Linked DNA regions of Homo sapiens: region 2 is linked to region 1. The links are contacts of gene promoters, found by promoter capture Hi-C in human tissues and cell types (Jung and others, 2019). All regions are on one chromosome and are shown on one strand. Each heading gives the region's core, a stretch centred on a gene start or on the middle of the fragment in contact. The rest is flanking DNA. Distances are from core to core; before and after follow the strand shown. Region 1 holds the start of KIAA1671. Region 2 overlaps MYO18B (myosin XVIIIB).

Region 1 (3,051 bases), core at 103-2,602:
GGGGCACGGGAAAGGAGAGGCCATAGACTGAGGGAGGCACTGATACTTATAGAGCCCCTACCTGTTTCATACCCTTCATTCCGATCCATCCTAGGCCAAGCCCATTTTGCCCAGAGGGTCCCCATCTGGATTCAGATAGGTTAAGTGTTTTGCCCAAGGTCACAAAAAAGGTGCAAAGAAAGTGTTTTTCTTTGTGCAACAGGTACAGTCCTTTCCCTTCCAAAAGATAATGGCTGCTCCTGGCTAGAGAAAGTTCAGTCCCGGCAGGCAGGAAGCCCTAGCCACCTAGGCGTCGCGCGGTGGAGGTCACACGCCTGCTCCGGGACTGGACAAACAGCAGGGTTTTAAGGCGCGGCGTCCCCACTCCCAGGCGAGTTTGTGCCAGCAGGGTGTGAAAAGGTCAGGCTCGGGTGGGGGTCAACGAGCCGCTTCCCATCCCGAGGGCCCCACCCGTGAGCCCGGGTGGGCCGCGCCGCCATCGGGGCGGGGACCACGCGGGCCTGCCTGGTAACAGGGGGACTGAGGCTTAATCCCATCAGGGCGCCTCCGCCCTGGGAAGACGAGCGGAGGGGGGGCGCAGGCCAGGCCGAGAGGACGTGTCCGGAGCCTCCGCGTCCGAGGGGCCCCGCGCGCCGCCCCTCTCACGCCCCCCGAACCACCGCGCTGTCCTCCGGGCTCCCCTCGACCAGGGTTCCGTCTCGCTCGCCGCCCTTGCTTCCCACTTCCACCTCCGGGGCCTCCAACCCGCACAAATGTCCAGACCCTAGCAGCTCCAGGCTGAGTAACCCAGATCTCCAGCGATCCCTCAGCTCCTAGCCACGGGATCTCTCTGAATCCATTCCCAAGGCTCAGGCTGGCATGGGAGGAGATTGATCCTCTCGCTCCCAGTCTCGAATCACCCTTCGCCGTCACCCCTGACTGGGGATCCAGTGGGACCCCAGGCCTCCAGCGCCCGATCCCCTCCAGGGATCGACTCCCAAGTCGCCAACCAGGTGGCACGTGATCCATTGGTTGCCCTGTGCGGGATCTTCCCGCGGGATCCACTCTCAAGTCTCGGGAGACGGATTCCCCGGCTCCCAAACCGGGATCCTCCCTCCCTGCAGACCCGGAGTCTGGGGAAATCCTCCGGCTCCCCGCCTCTTCCCCGGCCAACTTTGCCAACTTTTCTCCCGGGGCCTCGGCCGGGCAGAAACTTGGCGGCCCTCGCCAGCCGCCGTCACCCCCAGCTACCTCGTCGGCCGGGGACAGGAGGCGGCCAGCCGGCCCCCACTGCCCGCAGCCGCTGCGCAACCTACCGTGGAGCCACCGCCAGCCCGCGCCGCGCCGCCACCTGCCCGCAGCCCGCGGCACCTGCCCTGGGAGCCCGCAGCCCCGCGCAGCCTAGCCTGCTGGGGGCGGGGCCTCGAGCGGGGACGCGCCCCCGTCACCATGGGAACTGCCGCCGGCCGCGCCTGCGCGGAGGGGAGCAGAGCAGGCAGGACCCGAGTCCGCAGTGGCGCCTGGGCCTGGGACCTCTCCGGCGGGTCAGAGGTCACGACTCGCTTGGACACCCCTGCCGGAAGCGCTCCCGCCCCTCGAGGCCCGACCCCGCTCTGTCCAATTGGGAACTTTGCTCCGGGTACCCTCCCGCGTTCCCTGGATGTTCCCCAGTCACCAGCCAGGATCCCCCGCCACCGGCACCGACCCGCTGCCCAGCCGGCGACCCCGAGAGCCTAATGCAACCCAGGATTTCAGGAGGCGCTCCATAAATGTGGGCCCACTGACTTGCCTGGGCTGCTGGTGCCGGCCCGGGGGCGGGCAAGGTCTGTGCGCGGTGCTGGCGCCTCCTCGCGCCAAGCAAGGGCACTGCACCTGAGAGTTCGCTGGAGCGCCTACTGTGTGCGCATCCTCCTGCCATTATGTTGTGGGTGTGAGTTGTGGGGTAATGGGTACAGGAACTTGTGGACAAGTTGAGAGAATCGTAGGAAGTCGCCTCTGAAAGAGAAAATACCTGTTCTGTTATCCGTTACTCATTTCATTCAGCAGATCTTTATTAAGCACCTATTGCATGCTGGGTGCTGGAGAACCCAGTGGTGGGCAGCTGGCAAAATCCAGGCTGTTGTGCAGCTTACAGATATTCAAACAAATAATTTCACGAGTATATCAAATTGAATCTGTGACATGTGCTCCTATGGGAAATGTACAGAGCATGAATAACTGGAGGACCTAAAATCAATGTGCCTTTATTATAAGCAAGATAGACCTCAATAAAAAAAGAGAAAGAAAAGGACATCACAGGCTGCGCACGGTGGCTTGTAATCCCAGCATTTTGGGAGGCCGAGGCGGGTGGATCACCTGAGGTCATGAGTTTGAGACCAGCCTGGCCAACGTGGTGAAACCTCGTCACTACTAAAAATTACAAAAATTAGCTGGGCGTGGTGGCGGATGCCTGTGATCCCAGCTACTCGGGAGGCTAAGGCAGGAGAATGGCTTGAACCCGGGAGGTGGAGATTGCAGTGAGCCAAGAGCGCGCCACTGCACTCCAGCCTGGACGACAGAGCAAGACTCCATCTCAAAAAAAAAAAAAAGAAAAAGACATCACATTGTGTGGCTTCAGGAGGATTGGTGGGGAGACTTCTTGCCTCATTTTGCTCTTAAATTGTTGGGTGTGTGTAAGAAACAAGGGTAGCTCCTGTTCTCCACACCGTTTGCACTGCAACCCTTTTGAAGGTCTGATCATCACCATCAGACCCAGGCAGGGTAAACCCTGTTTACCAAACAGCAGCCCGAGAACCCCCAACTGACTTGTGTACAGTGCTGGAACCCAGGAATTGGGGGGCAGAGGTCCCATGAGGTCTCATGTCTCAAGACATTCTCCTTATCATCTGGGTATCTTGAGTACAGTCATCAAAAGGATCAAACCCAGTTGCTTTTACAGACAACTACCACTTCCAGAGAGAAGTCTGTGAGTAGGAGACCAGGAACGGCTGGGTTGAAACTTAAAATCCTTCAAAATCCACGTAAGTCAGGCCTTTACATGACGTGTATGTTATACCAGCAAAGGAAAATCGT
Region 2 (2,746 bases), core at 247-2,746, 950 kb before region 1:
TCAGTTCAACAGAGCTGCTCAGAGTTCATCTGCTTTACACATTCATGACACCTGGTCACATTTTCTCGCATAACGGTGGCCTCAGCATTTTTTTTAAAAAAAACACTTTAAAATAATTGCCTTTTACAAAATCCCACAAGAGAAATTCGTTTAGAGCCAAGCATCAGAAGAAGTCTTACTTCCCCTAGAAATTTTTTTTTTTTTTTTATCTCAGGCATGTAACTCACATTTCCTTTTTCTTTCTGGCCACCAGGAATTTTAGAGCTAAAATTATTATGTGTGTAAGACCATATGTTATGCTTTATCTGCCTATTAATTCACTGCCCCCACCCTCCTCCTTAGTGTCTATTTTATTTTGTACTTTTGTGGTTTGGATTGTTTTATTTACAATTTTTGTGTTCTATTATACATGTATCTTGTAAGCTGCCTCAAATTATTTATAGAATGAGGTAAATAAGTAAGTACATAAATAAGCAAGCAGACAAATAAAGTATTCATCTGGTACTTTGCAGAGGGTACTGGTACAAGAGTATTTGATATTTTTGTCTTATTCCCTTTGTTATTTTATTTTCCCCAAAGAGTAGCACTTCAATCTGCCCCGAAGCTGTGCACAATGCCTAGCACATAGCAGACATTCGAGGCAGTGTGGGGTCAGATGACACAGGTTCCAAATCCCATCCCTGATACTTTCTCCATGTCTCTGAGTCTCAACTTCTACATCCGTAAAGTGGGGATAATACTAAGATCTCCCTACATAAGGTTCATGTGGAGATTCGTGAGATGTGTGGGGAGAGCTTAGGGCTGAGGTTAGTATACAGACAGTACTCAATGAATGTTAGATATTTGGTCAACAGCTATTTATTGAGCATCAGCTATGTACCTGGCCTCATTCTAGGCTCTAGGATTGCACTAAGAAGCAAGAGAAAGAGAAAAACAATCTGACTTCATGAAGCTTATATGTTAATGAGAGAGAAAGGCATAAAGCAAACTTTTAAAAAATACTATCTAATACGATGGCAGGTACCAGAGAGTAAAGCAACCCAGCTAAGGAGATGGGAAATGAATGCAACCTAGTGGGAGCTATTTGCAAGATGATTAAGGCAGGCTTCTCTGAGGAGGTGACACTGAACCTTGCAGGGGAGAGCTGGATCAGGAAGGATCTGAATGTCAGACTTAGGAGCTTAAAGGTTCCCTGGGATAATAGGGAGCCATTGAAGGATGAGGAGCAGCCAAGTGAGGCACCCACATTGTATTTTAATAACATCACTCTGCATTGGAGACATGGGACAGGGTGTTGCCCTGAGACAGGGCTTTCCTACCTGCTCCAGCTGCTTGATGGTGTTTTCCTGCTGGCTCTGGATTTTCTGTTGCTCAAGGGCGCTGGATTCCAACTTCCAGAGCCTCTCCTTCAAGCCAGCAACGCAATTTTCCCCCAGAGAGGGTGACCCCAGCAGCTCCCGTTTATGGTCCTGTAGCATCTCCACCTGCTGCTTCAGCTGTGAGGCTTCCTGCTCCTTTTGCTACAGAGACAAAGAGGACAGAGATCTGGAGTCACATGAGTATGCCTCCCTCCTCCCCCAGGGATACCTCTACAACCAACTGGGGCTGGAGTGGCGTTTTCCACTTTCCAATGCCTGCCATTTCCACCTGGACCCCACCGTCCCTCACAGCGCCCCCTGTGGGACACCAGCAAGGGCTGCTCTTGGTATAGCTCCTACAGGCATGGAGTTGGGGGTGGGAGGTAGGATTGGAATAAATTGTCCCTAGAGTTCGATCTCAGAGCACCTACAGGAAGGGTTGACCCCATTTGTAAGGGAAGTGGAGGCACACAGCTAAAGCTTCCCTGTGTGCCGTCTGAGGCTGGGATTGAGATGTTGGAGCAGGGAGGCAAAGTGCTCAGAAATGACTCTTCCAGGTTACAAAGTCAGCTCCAGGATCAAATAACTTTGGGCCAGATCGTGAAGGAGTTGAACGCCAGGCTAAAGCGCTCAGAGGTTCTCCTGCGAGTAGTAGAGAACCACAAAAGGATGAGGAGCAGCTGAGTGAGGCACCCGTGTTGTATTTTAGTAAAATCTCTCTGCATTGGAGCCTGCTTGGACCAGGACATTGCTCCTGGACAAGGTTATAGCTAACTCATTCTCTGCTGAGCCTGTTATACCTCCCAGGTAAGCACCTCGGAACCTGTGCAGGTAACTGAAGCAAGATCAAGACATCAATCTTGCTCAAAGTCTGATTATCAATTTACCAGCCACCATTTGCTATTTTATTAAGACACACTGGGATTCAGCTGCTTGACAGACCAGGATACCCTTGTGAAGTTTTCTCTCTGTCACCATTTGCAGCAGGTGCACGATGCAGTTTCCCGAGATTTAGCCACCAAGAGCCAAGATAGCTCTGTGTCCCCCATCCCTTACCTTCAGCTGCTGCTGAAGCTGGCCTAGCTCCCACCGGACACTGGTGTTCTCCTGGGTCACTTTCTCACGGAGACCCTTCTCAAACACTGACTCACCTAGGGCCTGGGCCAGCTGCAGGTCAAACCTGTGCAAAGCAGAGCACGTGTCAGGGCCCCGTAGGCAGGTGGGCAGGGGAGTGATTGAGGCAGGGGCAGGGAGGGGCTGCAGAGAGGCCGCTAGTTTCCCAAGAACCATTAGAAAGAGAGCAAAAGGAAGAAGAGAGATAGAGAAAGTATGAGAAGTTGGAAGTTTTTCTCAATGCTTTTACGTAAGGCTGTGGATGTAGGGTGGGA

Evidence for each region. Contacts are between HindIII fragments. The study calls those that stand out against the background at their distance.
Region 2: a contact is called between a fragment that was not itself captured here and the fragment with the promoter of KIAA1671 in region 1, in 2 of the 25 tissues and cell types used here (lymphoblastoid cells and spleen).

The regions. Positions count from the first base shown.
Region 1 is chr22:24,951,017-24,954,067 of GRCh38, reverse strand. KIAA1671 reads right to left here and starts at 1,352. Exons shown (of 13, transcript NM_001145206.2): 1 at 1,296-1,352. RefSeq lists a silencer at 1,286-1,535. The HindIII fragment of the contact is 5,810 bases long and covers 1-3,051 here.
Region 2 is chr22:25,902,405-25,905,150 of GRCh38, reverse strand. MYO18B (myosin XVIIIB) reads right to left here. Exons shown (of 44, transcript NM_032608.7): 30 at 2,415-2,538; 31 at 1,320-1,520. Among named protein-coding and RNA genes, the nearest start is that of MYO18B-AS1, 3.8 kb to the right of the region's middle. The HindIII fragment of the contact is 3,439 bases long and covers 1-2,746 here.